3 separate regions of the Homo sapiens genome follow, and all the other regions are linked to region 2. The links are contacts of gene promoters, found by promoter capture Hi-C in human tissues and cell types (Jung and others, 2019). All regions are on one chromosome and are shown on one strand. Each heading gives the region's core, a stretch centred on a gene start or on the middle of the fragment in contact. The rest is flanking DNA. Distances are from core to core; before and after follow the strand shown. Region 1 has its middle 33 kb from the start of UBE2Q2. Region 2 holds the start of SNUPN (snurportin 1). Region 3 has its middle 4.4 kb from the start of UBE2Q2.

Region 1 (4,689 bases), core at 1,414-3,913, 190 kb after region 2:
GGATCTTTACACTAGGCTGCCCTACCTGGGGGTTAGGAAGCCATAGGCATCCTGGTCATAAGTCTGGACCCCAAAAAGGGCTTCTGCCAGCCTGCTAAGGGTTCCAGAGGGCAGGACTGAGGGGTGGTGGGAGGAGCCCAGCCTGGACGGCCGAGATATATATAGTGCTCTTGATTCATCTCTTGGAACTTTTCACCCATCAAGTTTAGGCTCCCAGTGGGGCACACATGGGAAAGACAATGCCCATGTCTTCAACTAGTTTCCCCATCAGAAGTGGTCATTGCACCAAGCACCCTCCTCCATTAAAACCGGACAGGCCAAGGGCCGCTTTCCTAATGGATGAGTCTTCTTGGTCTGTCTCATGTTCCCAACAGAGCTCCCTCCATGGGATGGGAAGGTGCCATCCCAGGGCCGCCGTTTTGACCCAGCCTCCAGCCAAAGCTGGTCCCCCTGCCAAGCAGGCCCTAGAGTTACACTGGAGAGTGACAAGCCTCATCTGAAGATTTCTTGCTGAAAATTGTCAGTTTCCTGCACAAGTACATCCTGGCAGTTTACACATTTATGCTTAGCGTTCCATTACTGGAACGCTAAGCTTGTGGAGTTATTTATATCCTACTGCTCAGTGTCATCGCCAAGGTCTGATTTTTCACAGAAAAACATTTGCAACCTCTGACATAATGAGTTAATTCAAATTAAACCCAGAAGGAGACTGCTGCTTCAGTCTCAACTGCTTGGAAATTGTGCTATGTAGAGCTTTCGTTTACTGAAAATTGTGCCTTCAGACTCTGTGCAGATTAACCTACTACATAGAGCAAGTACACACATAGGGCACCAACCAAGGACAAGTGTGTACCTGTGTGCACACACAAATAGAAAATCCAAAAATAAATATTTTAATTTCAGCTATCATGGAAGTTTTGTGTCATTTCTCCAAAAATGCCCATGTCAAATTTTATTTTATAATTTAGTCTTGTTTTTATTTAGAATTACTTAAGAAAAAGGGGAGCTGAGTGTGGTGGCTTATGCCTGTAATCCCAGCACTTTGGGAGGCTGAGGCAGAGGATTGCTTGAGCCCAAGAGTTTAAGATCATCCTGGGCAACTTGGTGAAACCCCATCTCTACAAAAAATACAAAAATTAGCCAGATGTGGTGGTATGTGCCTATGGTCCCAGCTGTGCAGGAGACTGAGGTGGGAGATTCATCTGAGTCTGGTAAGTTGACGCTGCAGTGAGCTGTGATCGCATCTTTGCACTCCAGCCTGATGACAGAGAGAAACTGTCTCAAAAAAAAAAAAAAAAAAAAAAAGGAAAAGGAAGAAAGAAAGGCAAAGAAAGAAAGAAAATGAAAGAAGAAAGAAAGAACGAATGAATGAAAGAAAGAAAGAAAGAAAAGAAAGAGAGGAGCTCTGCACAATAATTTTGCAGTGTCTTGGGTCTCTAAAGATCTTAATTAGGACCTAAACTCAGATTAGGCTGGGATCCTGGGCAGTGTGGCCCCAAATACAGTTATGGGAGGCCCTTCCAAGATAAGTCTAGACTGAGATAGAGTAGGTCTCAGGAGAGGGGCTGATATGCCCATGGTTCTCAACCTGGCTGCACCTGGAGAGCTTGGCATCACCTGGAGAGCTTGAAAACATTCTGATGCCCAAGCCCCACCCTAGAGATTCTGAGCTAATTGGTGGGGGATGGCCTGGGCACCAGGAATTTTCACAGCTCACCTGATGATGGCACTGTGCAGCCAGGGTAGAGAAATACTGACCTTTGCTTTCTCCACGTTGTGTCTGCCTTGGTTTTCCCATATTCCCCCAGGCTCCAGGATCTGAATGAACTACAGGAATTGAGAATTAGCCCTCCCACCCAGCCACTTTCTTCCCCTGCTGGGGAATCTTTGAGCCTTCATTTTGGCTATAGGCCTCGATATAACTCATCGGCCCAGGGATCGGGGCAGGAGTGGGGCTCCTGGCAGAGAGCAGAGTGTGGGCTTTGTAGTTACACAGACTTGCATTCAAGTCCCAGCTCTGTGATGTCAGAAGAAGATCTGATCCATAGTTGGTTACCCTGCGAAGTGGAGAAAGTGTCCGCCTAACCGGCAAGATCTCTTTGAGACTGAAATGAGAGAAAGCTGGGGCAACAAGTGAGTTCCTTCCGCGCCATTTCTGTGAGCTGGCCCTGTAGCTTCTCCTTGGTCCTTTGAGTTCTCAGCTTTAGCTCTCTTACTCCTGCTCCTTCTCCTCACTCTCTCTCTTTTCCACCCTGGATAAGTGCCCTGCTTCTCCCCACAGGTTAACCACCCTCCCCCGTACCCAGTGGGTGATGAAAGTCTTCCCTGGTTGTGCCAGCATCTCCCTGATACTTCCTTTCTCTCCTGCATTCAACCATGATGAAGCCCAGCACAGTCTCCCTCTCTTGTGCCCCATTTCCACCACAAGGTCACTGTCAGCTCTTACACAGACATCCCCAGTAGCTTCCACTTTGGCCTCTTCCAACCAGCCATTCTGGTATTGCAGCCATATTCATCTTTAAAAGCCCAATATTATTAAGTCACTCTCTTGCTAAATTCTGCAATGGCTTTGACTCACCCTTGGCCTGCAGGATCTGGCCCCTGCCTGCCTCTGCAGCCACCTTTTGCTTCATTCTTTCTCTCTTACTCCCTCTATCACCTCAGATCCCTGAGGGTTCCCTCCCTCCTACCTCAGGACCTTTGCACATGCTGTTCTCTCTGCCAGAAACACTTCTCTTTGACAGTGAATGCCTTCTCAAATATCCCTTATTTGGGGTGTTGACTACCCACCCCATCAGATTAGGTCCCTCACTATATGCTCTTATATCTCTTTATACTTTTTCAATTAAATAAATTTTGATCACGTGATTTATGGCCATCTCCCCTACTAGACTGTAAGCTCCATAACATCAAGGACCAGGCCAGTTTTTGTTCATCGTTGTAACCCAAATGCTTAGCACTGTGCCTGGCACAAACTAGGGGCCATTTGGACCAAGTGTCTAGGTTGTGTAGACTTGCAGCCCCTGTGGAAGTGTGTGGATAAACATGAGAAACAGGATGACTGCCTCCCCAGCATGGCTTGAGTGTTTCCTGGATGTGTCCAGGCGGGTATCACATGCTGGGTGGCATCAGAGGAGTGCCCTGTTTTCCTTTTATAAGAGAAGGAAAGGTTAGAGACTATGAACAGTCAGCTGTGGGATCATACAGTGTCTGCCCTGCTCCACTTGGCTCAAGGCCTCTGGGGAATGGGGATATGGGACAGGGACATGGCGCATGGTGCAAGTGGTTGTGGCAGCGAGCCTTATGGAGGAACAGCAGTGAGTCAGTCCCTTCTTGGCATGGGACGCTGCCTCTGCAGGCATAGGAGGCCATATTCCCCACTCTCACACCCAGTCAGTTGGGTGCTTCTAACTTGAGCTGTGGCATTTGGCATGTAAAAAATGCATTCCTGGTTTTCCAGCTTGGATCTCATGGTAAGCAGGGGTGTGAGGTCTGAGGAGGATGAGTGTTTCAGTGGAGATGTCTGGATAACTTTTAGGATAAGTATATCCCAAACATTGCATGGGATATACTCATACAAAAAAACTATTTGCTGTTTATCTGATATTGTAGGTTAACTGCATATCCTATAGTTTTCTTTGCTCAATCTGGTGCCCCTAAGCTTGGGGCTTCCTCACTTCACCGTGGTGCTGTTGTGCCCTTCCTTCATTATACCACACTAGGCTCTTGGGGTACACAGAGGAGTGAGACAGGACCCTTCCCTCAGGGAACTCACAGTCTAACATAAGAGATAAGAATTTGAACAGAGATCGCCAAAGCAATGCAAACTCTATTTCTGAGAATTTGGGGACCCTTGTTGGAATAGAACAGCTTTAGAATTCAGAAGAGATCAGAAATCATGGAACAGAATAGGAAGTCCAGAAACAAACCTGAAGGTTTTTCTTTTCTTTTTTTTGGAGATGGAGTCTCACTCTATTACTCAGGCTGGAGTGCAGTGGTGTGATCTTGGCTCACTGCAACCTCTGCTGCCTGGGTTCAAGCAATTCTCCTGTCTCAGCCTCCTGAGTAGCTGGGATTACAGGTGCCTGCCACTACGCCCAGCTAATTTTTATATTTTTAGTAGAGATGAGGTTTCACCATCTTGGCCAGGCTGGTCTTGAACTCCTGACCTCATGATCCACCCACCTCGGCCTCCCAAAGTGCTAGGATTACAGACATGAGCCAGCACGCCTGGCCACAAACCTGAATTTTTATAAGAATATATTGTTTTAGCGTGTGATAAAGGTGGCATTAAGACCTCTTGAGCAAAGAAGAATTATTCAATAAGTTTTGTTAGAGCAATTAATTAACTACCTGGAAAAAAATTAAGTTAGAATCATTACTACTTTAAACCTCATGCCAGAAATGAATTCCAGTTGTTGTAAAGATGTTAACAAATAAAACTGTAAACATACTAACTAGGAGAAAACATAAAAAAAGAATATTTACATGATCTTGGGGATTATGAAGGACTTTCTAAGCATGATGCTCAGTACTGTACAGAAGGTATAAAGAAAAATTGTTCTATTCATTGCAAATTTGTTCTATTCTTGCAAAATTGTTCTATTCATTGCAAATTTGTTTTTCTCAATAATTTCTTCTGTCTTTTCATTTGTTTTTCTGGTGTTTTGTAACATACAGAAGTTTTCA
Region 2 (4,401 bases), core at 1,688-4,187:
AGTCAGATATTTTTCTTGATTTGAAACATTAGATTTTGTTTAATTTAAAAGGAACTTAAAAATCGTGGTTTGCCAGGTGCAGTTGTGCTTGCCTTTAGTCCCAGCTACTCTGGAGGCTGAGGCAGGAGGTATGCTTGAGCCCAGGAGTTCGAAGCCAGCCTGGGCAATATAGCAAGACCTTGTCTGTAAAAAGAAAAAAAAATTGTGGCTAAATACACATATCATGAAATTCATCATCTTAACCATTTGTAGGTGTACAGTTCTGTAAAGTTAAGTATGTTCAACACTGCTGTGCAGAACTCTCCAGAACTCCTTTTATCTTGAATAACTGAACCTCTGTAACCTTTAAACATAAAAGAAACTTTTTTTTTTTTGAGACAGAGTTTCACTCTTGTTGCCCAGGCTGGAGCACAATGGCACGATCTTGGCTCACCACAACCTCCGCCTCCCAGGTTCAAGTGATTCTCCTGCCTCAGCCTCCCGCGTAGCTGGGATTACAGGCGCCCGCCACCACGCCCGGCTAATTTTGTTTTTGTATTTTTTAGTAGAGACGGGGTTTCACCGTGTTAGCCAGGATGGTCTCGATCTCCCGACCTCCTGATCTGCCCACCTTGGCCTCCCAAAGTGCTGGGATTACAGGTGTGAGCCACCACGCCCGGCCTTTTTTTTTTTTTTGAGACAGGGTCTCACTTTGTCTCCCAGGCTGGACTACAGTGGTGTGATCTCGGCTCACTGCAGCCTCCACCTCCTGGGTTCAAGTAACTCTCCTGCCTCAGCCTCCTGAGTAGCTGGGATTATAGACATGCACCACCATGCTCGGCTAATTTTTGTATTTTTAGTAGAGAAGAGGTTTCATTATGTTGGCGTGGCTGGTCTGAAACTCCTGACCTGAAGTGATCTGCCTGCCTCAGCCTCCCAAAGTGCTGGAATTACAAGCATGAGCCACTGCACCCGGCTTGAGGTGTGCCTTAATATCTTTGCAATGCAACCAAGGGTTGCCATTCCTGAGTGACTGAGGCCTCATGATGAGTGCTTGGGATCCATATGGTATGTTATTCAAATCATCCATAATGGTATGTATGCTATTGTCTCTACTTTTCTGTACTTTTGTGTAAGTTTGAAAGCTTTCATGATAAAATTTTTTTTTTTTTTTTTTTTGAGACGGAGTCTCGCTCTGTCGCCCAGGCTGGAGTGCAGTGGCGGGATCTCGGCTCACTGCAAGCTCCGCCTCCCGGGTTCACGCCATTCTCCTGCCTCAGCCTCCCAAGTAGCTGGGACTACAGGCGCCCGCCACTACGCCCGGCTAATTTTTTGTATTTTCAGTAGAGACGGGGTTTCACCGTTTTAGCCGGGATGGTCTCGATCTCCTGACCTCGTGATCCGCCCGCCTCGGCCTCCCAAAGTGCTGGGATTACAGGCGTGAGCCACCGCGCCCGGCCGATAAAAATTTTTAAAAAGTCATTATGTTTTCAGTTCATCACCAAAGTAATGACCAAATCCAAAGCACCTTTATTAGGCCTATCATGCACTATCTTGGTGTGGGCTCCCGCTCTGCCAAGAACCACACAACCTTTGAAACTGATGTCCTGGGCCTGGCGCGGTGGCTCACGCCTGTAATCCCAGCACTTTGGGAGGTTGAAGCGGGCAGATCACCTGAGGTTAGGAGATCGAGACCATCCTGGCTAACACAGTGAAACCCCGTCTCTACTAAAAAAAAAAAAAAAAATACAAAAAAATTAGCCAGGCATGGTGACGGGCGCCTGTAGTCCCAGATGCTCGGGAGGCTGAGGCAGGAGAATGGCTTGAACCCGTAAGGCGGAGCTTGCAGTGAGTCGAGATCGTGCCACTGCACTCCAGCCTGGACTTCGTCTCAAAAAGAAAAAAAAAAGAAAAACTGATGTCCTGGATACTGGGGCGGTTCCTTTACCTTCCTTCAAGGCTGTTCTTGGCGGGTTCCTGCTGTTTCGTTTTGTTTTTTCTTTGTTGTTGTTGTTTTTTTTTTGAGACAGAGTTTCGCTCTTGTTGCCCAGGCTGGAGTGCAGTGGCATGATCTCGGCTCACTGCAACCTCCATCTCCCGGATTCAAGCGATTCTCCTGCCTCAGCCTCCCGAGTAGCTGGGATTACAGGCACGCGCCACAACGCCCGGCTAATTTTTTTTGTATTTTTAGTACAGATGGGGTTTCACCATGTTGGTCAGGCTGGTCTCAAACTCCTGACCTCAGGTGATCCGCCCACCTCGGCCTCCCAAAGTGCTGGGATTACAGGCGTGAGCCACTGCGCCCCGCCGGGCTCCTGCTGTTTCAACCCATTCCTTGGATGGTGCTGCCTCCAAGTGTTCGGACCTTAGCCCCAGGTGGTCTTAGCACCAGTAACCCCCGCTCCAACTCCCTAAAGTCCGACCCGCCCCAGGCCCCGCCCACGCTCCACCCTCCCTCCCTGTCTAGCCCCCTCCCCCATCCCCTTCCCCCTCCTTCGCGTCTCCCCATCCGGCGCCCCCGCCTCGCGTCCCCTGGGTCCGCATCCTGGCAGCCTCCGCGTTTCCCTACCCCTGCTACCGGGCTCCAGCCCCGGGGACGCTATCTGCTTCACTCGGCCGTGCGCGCCGCCACCGCCCCGCACTGCCTTTTTCTAGGCATGGGGTCATCTAGGCCATGCATGATTCGCCCCTGCCCCACAGAAGTCCCTGAGGGGTCCTGGCCGGACAGCACGGAATAGAAGAACGGAAACTCTCCCAAAAGGAGTCCCAGGCCTGGCTCTATCCCTCCAGATGACGTCCCAGGAGGCCAGAGTGCAGGGCCGGCCAGAGGGAGTCACAGTCCGGCACCGAGAGGCAACTCGGCAGCTGGCGGGGCCCGGGCTCGAACCCAGGGACTCACCCAAACCGAGGTGACCGTCGCACGCGCCGCCGCCACCGGGGCCGACGAATCACCTGCCCTGGGAAGCTAGGTCCGCCCTCCCCCCGCCCCCAGCTGCTGCCTCACCGCTGGGCCCACAGGCCTCGCGCCCTGAGTTTCCGGCTCCTCCCTCCTTTGCGAACGCTGGGAGTTCCGTTGCCTACAGGCCGTTATTTCCGCCTTCAACGGCTGGGGCATTTCCCATCGGCTAGGGAGGGGGTCTTCTTGCATTTGCTTTGCACTGTCCGGGACTCTTCCTGCTAGATGACTTGACCAGGCCGAGGCCTCCCTCCTGAACACAAGCTCTTCGGGGCTCCTTTCGCCAATGGGAGGAGGCTGATCTTGTGGCCGGGCATTCAACGCCCTGGGCCCTGCCGCCTCCCGCAGATCTTCCCGGGCCTTAGGGCTTCACCTGGAGTCCCCTTCCCCTCTTGGGCCCGTGCTCTTAAACGGGCAGTGCCAATTGCCTGGATTACTCCAACTAACCCCTCACACCCAAGTTTCAGACACAGACCTTCGCTCCCCCACTTGCCCTTAACAAAAGCAGATACATACCTCGATTACTGCCTGTTTGCTGCTTTTGCGAGCTTCTTTCCCACTCGGCTGCGGGCTGAGCAATGGTAGGGACCTGGCTTGATTCCTATTTAAGTAGCCAGAGTCCAGCACAAGGGATGGCGCTCAGTAGACCCTGCGTGAAGGAATGATTAAATTGGTGCAAAAGACTAGGGTAAGCGGCAGAGATTTAGGAGATTAAGTCCTGCCAGGGTGTAGCCTCTGCAGGGCGGGAAGGCTGAGATTACAATTTTAAAACTGAATATTTATTGAATGCTTACATTCAGCCAATCCCTGCTTCACACCCATCATCTCATTTAATTTTTTTCCTTTTTTTTCTTTTTTAAGCCAGTAGATATTAACTCTTAATCATGACATGAGGAAGTAGACACACTGAAGCTCAGAGAGGTTAAGTAATTTGGCCAAAGTAACACAGCTTTCAAGGAAAATGTTTGAATTTGCTGAAAGTTTGATGTATAGGGAAGTTGACTACCGATGTATGACAGAAGCAAAGTATCCACCTTTGGCACATTTTGCGTCCACGGAATGCTAAAATTTGGACTTGTGTATTTTATGCACATTACACCATACATTCAGACTAAAAAGAATAGGAAATTAGGCTGATGAAAGGCTATTACTAGACTGGTAAAAAGGGTTCTGGGGCCCTGGAAGGCCAATTTTTCTGGACGTGAGATTTTTTTTTATTTTTTTGAGATGGAGTCTCGCTCTGTCGCCCAGGCTCTGGAGTGCAGTGGCGCAATCTCCGCTCACTGCAAGCTCCGCCTCCCGGGTTCACGCCATTCTCCTGCCTCAGCCTACTGAGTAGCTGGGACTACAGGCGCCTGCCACCATGCCCGGCTAATTTTTTTGTATTTTTAGTAGAGACGGGGTTTCACTGTGTTAGCCAGGATGGTCTCGATCTCCTGACCTCATGATCTGCCCGCCTCGGCCTC
Region 3 (4,304 bases), core at 866-3,365, 210 kb after region 2:
AGGTGTTTACATCTTGGTCTGAAAGCCCTTTATAATACAGGCAAGAGAGAAATGATGAGTGTTGCTAACTAAAACTAAAATCAAAGATAGGAGTTTTGTTATAAGCCAGAGTCCAAACTTGTGAAAATTGTAGCTTAGAAAAACTTTCTGGCTGAGTTGGCTGCAGTTGAATAATGAGTCACTTGTTCATTTCAACAGGGATGGGCTCAGTTTCCTGTGCCTCCTGGGTAGTGCTGTGGTTGTCTGGGCCTAGTGGCCACATGCTGATGTGTGCTCACTTTAGACAGGGAGAGGTCCTCACCACTTCCCTGACATTTTAGTCAAACTAGATCACTTCTCTCACAATTTACTTGCAGTCTTTCTAAGTAAGGATGTTACATGGGTTTCACCTTCAGTAGGCTATATTCACGTAACGATCATTTAGTGGGTGCTTTCTATGTCCCAGGAACCAGGCTATGTGCTACAGACATGAAGAGGATTAGGACAAGTTGTTCATAATCTCGCAGAGGAGACAAATGAGAAACCAGCTAGTCATAACAAAGGCAGAGTTAAATAAGTGCTGTAATAGACAAGGTACTGGGAAATTCAGGAAAAGGAGGGACTAAAATTCAATATAGGGGACTAGGGAAGGCTCACTGAAGGAGATGGCATTTGAACACGGCCTTAAAGAATATGTTAGACCAGAATAGCATGGAACATATAATTGGGCATTCTTCCACATTCATGTTCTTTTTTTAAAAAAATCTTTTATTTAAGGTTCAGGAGTACATGTGAAGGTGTGTTACATAGGTAAACTCATGTCATAGGGTTTATTGTACAGATTATTTCATCACCCAGGTATTAAACCCAGTACCTAATAGTTATATTTTTGGCTCCTCTTTCTCCTCCCACCCTTCACTCTCAAGTAGACCCCAGTGTCTTTTGTTCCCTTCTTTGTGTCCATGTGTTCTTATCATTTAGCTCCCACTTATAAGTGGGAACATGCGGTATTTGGTTTTCTGTTCCTGCATTAGTTTGCTAAGGATAATGGCCTCCAGCTCCATCCATGTTCCTGCAAAAGACATGATCTTGTTCTTTGTTTATGGCTGCATGCATTCAAGTTCTTGAAGTCTGAAATTCTTCCACTGTGCAGGCTGTGGCAGCTCTCATATTTCCTTTCACACTGAACCTGCTCTGTCTTCCTGGAGACTTCCAGCCTCCCAACCCATCCTAGTCTCACGGTCCTTTATGCACTTCTAGATGAGACTCCAAGATCAGAGTTTTCAAGCAGATTTTTTTTTTTTTAGTACTTCTTTGTCCTCTGGCTTCTGTTTTTATCTATCGTACTAATCCCCAATCTTGTTTTGCTGAAATTCATGTTATCCATTCAGTATGAGGTCTCTCAACAACTCTCTAGTCTAACTCAACATTTCTTTGTGTCTTCCCCAATTCTCTCCCCCAACCCTATCCTCTATGGAGGGGGCATTCCTTTCTATGAGTAACTCTTTATCCCATGTTTTCTCTTCCCTTCCAGGACCCAGTAGCATGCTTTTTCTCCTCTCTCGTATCCAGTCTTCATTGCCTGTTAATGGTTCTCTCCTTAGAGGTAGATCCAGGGTTTTCAGGGCCTAAAGCTTATTTAATCTTGGGAGTCTTCTTCTTCTTCAAAAAAAAATACAAAATTACAAATATCAAATTAAGGGGGAAAAGTTAATACTTACTTAGAAGGGGGCTGTGTAACTGCGAGGGGCCCTGAAGCTTATTTCATAGTGAGTCCATCTCTGTCTGTCCTATAATAAAAACCTAACCAAACACAAAAGCTTCCCTTTGCTTTGCTATTGCAAACCATTATTCCATTTCTCTTTCTCAACACCCTGAAACTTTTCAAGAAAGTAGACTAGGTACATTCTCTTCACTTTAACATCACTTTGACCTCATGCCCACCATGCTATTGCAATGGTTTTCTCTGAAGCACCACTGACCTTCTAATCCCTAAAGCCTATGGCCTTTTCTTGGTCCTGAACTAACTTGTCCCTTCCATAAAAATTCAACATGAGTCATCCTCTGACTTCTTCAAATGACTCTTTTCCCACTCAAGCACCAATGGTGAGCCTTCCTCAGGGTCCCTTCAACATCCCAGGTTGTCTTCCCTCCCTTGTGACTCAATGATCACACCTATGGCATGGCTTCCACCATCACCCACCTGTGTGGCTGACCCAATTATGTGTCCTTTGCTCTGACTTCCCTCATAAACTTCAAACTTAAGATACAAACTCTCTACCTACGTTCCATCAGCACACCAAATTCAACATCTTTTTCTTGATGTGTCAATGGCATCACTCCCTCCCTGCCATCTGCTCTAGAAATTTCAAAGTGTTACTTTAAACAAATTTCCCCTCTCTCCTTCTATCCTCCCGTCATTTCTAAGATCTAGCAGTTCTACTCCACACTGATTCCCTAGTGTGGTTCTTTCTACTGCCATTTCCCGTACTTCAATTTTTTTCACTCTTGACTCAGACTGATTCAAAGGCTCTTCATTGTTTGCAGCTAAGGAGCCTCAGAGCTGAGTATGACTTGCCCCATTGAATTAATGGCAGGCCAGATGTAGAATCCAGGTCTCTTGCTTCTTTTCGGTGGCTGCATACTTCTAAGCCCACTATAATCCATTTTATATATGAATGCCAGATTAATCTTTCTTTTTTTGTTTTTTTTTTTGTTTTTGTTTTGTTTTGAAACAGGGTCTCACTCTGGTTGCCCAGGTTGGAGTGCAGTGGTGCAATCTTGACTCACTGCAGCCTCGACCCCCTGGGCTCCGGTGATTCTCCCACCTCACCCCCCGAGTAGCTGGACTACAGGCACGTGCCACCATGCCTTGTTAATTTTTTGTATTTTTAGTAGAGATGGGTTTTCGCCATGTTGGCCAGGCTGGTCTCGAACTCCTGGACTCAAGCAATCCGTCTGCCTCAGCCTCCCAGAGTGCTGGGATTACAGGTATGAGCCACTGTACCTGGCCCAGATTAATCTTAAAAGTGATTACTCCAGTGAAACCCTGTCTCTACTAAAAATACAAAAAATTAGCTGGGCGTGGTGGCGGGCACCTGTAGTCCCAGCTACTTGGGAGGTTGAGGCAGGAGAACGGCATGAACCCGGGAGGCAGAGCTTGCAGTGAGCCAAGATCGTGCTACTGCACTCCAGCCTGGGCGACAGAGCGAGAATCCATCTCAAAAAAAAAAAAAAGAAAAAAAAAGTGATGACTTTTGTCCAGGCGCGGTGGCTCACGCCTGTAATCCCAGAATTTTGGGAGGCCAAAGCGGGCAGATCATGAGGTCAGGAGATCGAGACCATCCTGGCTAACATAGTGAAACGCTGTCTCTAGTGAAAATACAAAAATTAGCTGGACACGGTGGTGCATGCCTGTAGTCCCAGCTACTCGGGAAGCTGAGGCAGGAGAATCACTTGAACCCAGGAGGCAGAGGCTACAGTGAGCTGAGATTGTGCCACTGCACTCCAGCCTGGTGACAGAGCGAGACTCCATCTCGAAAAAAAAAAAAAAGTGATGCCTCTCACCAAATGAAACTATTATACTATAGTCTGTGGCATGGTATTTCAGGGCTCAAAATCTGATCAAAAGTAATATCTCAACTTTATCTTTCTCTTGGCCCCTTGCTGTACTCTACAATCAAATGGGCTCTTGAATATCCTCTGAATATGGCCCTACTTTCATGCAAATAATTCATGGAATTAGTTTCTTCCTCCCCTGAAATGTAGTTCAGTAGTTTGAACCTCATATCACATATGATCTGATGTTGTCTTTACTTGTCTGTGTAAGACTATGGTGACTCCCCAGCAACCATTCCATCCCAGCAGGTTGGAAATCCAGAGTAATCCCATCTACTTCTCTGTGATTGGTTAGGGGTGGGCATGTGACACACTTCTGGCCAAGGACACACTAAGGGAAGTCTGCTGGGAAGATTCTTGGAAAGCTTCCCATGTGTTAGAAGGAAACATAGAAGAAAATGTCCTTTCTGCCTCTGGATATTTTCATGTCTGGATGTGAACTGCAAGAACAGCTACAGCCACCTTGCTCTCAACCCAACAAAAGAGATGGAAAGAATTTGGACTTTTGATGACATGAAAGCTCAGGTCAACCAATCCTGGAGACTGTTCTGTCTTTGGACTTCCTATTATGTGAAGTAATTTATTTCCTTATTGTCCAAGGCAGATTAAATCACAGTTTTCTATTATTTGCAGCCAAAAGCATCAGGAAACAATATTTTGTTTTTGATGCTAAATGTTAAGCTTCTTAAAATCAGGGACTGTATCTA

The links. The method cuts DNA at HindIII sites, captures the fragments that hold promoters and counts their contacts. A contact is called where the count stands out against the background at its distance.
Region 1: a contact is called between a fragment that was not itself captured here and the fragment with the promoter of SNUPN in region 2, in 1 of the 25 tissues and cell types used here (mesenchymal stem cells).
Region 3: a contact is called between a fragment that was not itself captured here and the fragment with the promoter of SNUPN in region 2, in 3 of the 25 tissues and cell types used here (IMR-90 fibroblasts, dorsolateral prefrontal cortex and spleen).

Annotation. Positions count from the first base shown.
Region 1 is chr15:75,808,437-75,813,125 of GRCh38, forward strand. No RefSeq gene overlaps it. Among named protein-coding and RNA genes, the nearest start is that of UBE2Q2, 33 kb to the right of the region's middle. The HindIII fragment of the contact is 6,763 bases long and covers 1-4,689 here.
Region 2 is chr15:75,622,788-75,627,188 of GRCh38, forward strand. SNUPN (snurportin 1) reads right to left here and starts at 2,938. Exons shown (of 9, transcript NM_005701.4): 1 at 2,879-2,938. RefSeq lists a silencer at 2,417-2,466 and an enhancer at 3,117-3,306. The HindIII fragment of the contact is 13,243 bases long and covers 1-4,401 here.
Region 3 is chr15:75,836,900-75,841,203 of GRCh38, forward strand. No RefSeq gene overlaps it. Among named protein-coding and RNA genes, the nearest start is that of UBE2Q2, 4.4 kb to the right of the region's middle. The HindIII fragment of the contact is 6,022 bases long and covers 1-4,304 here.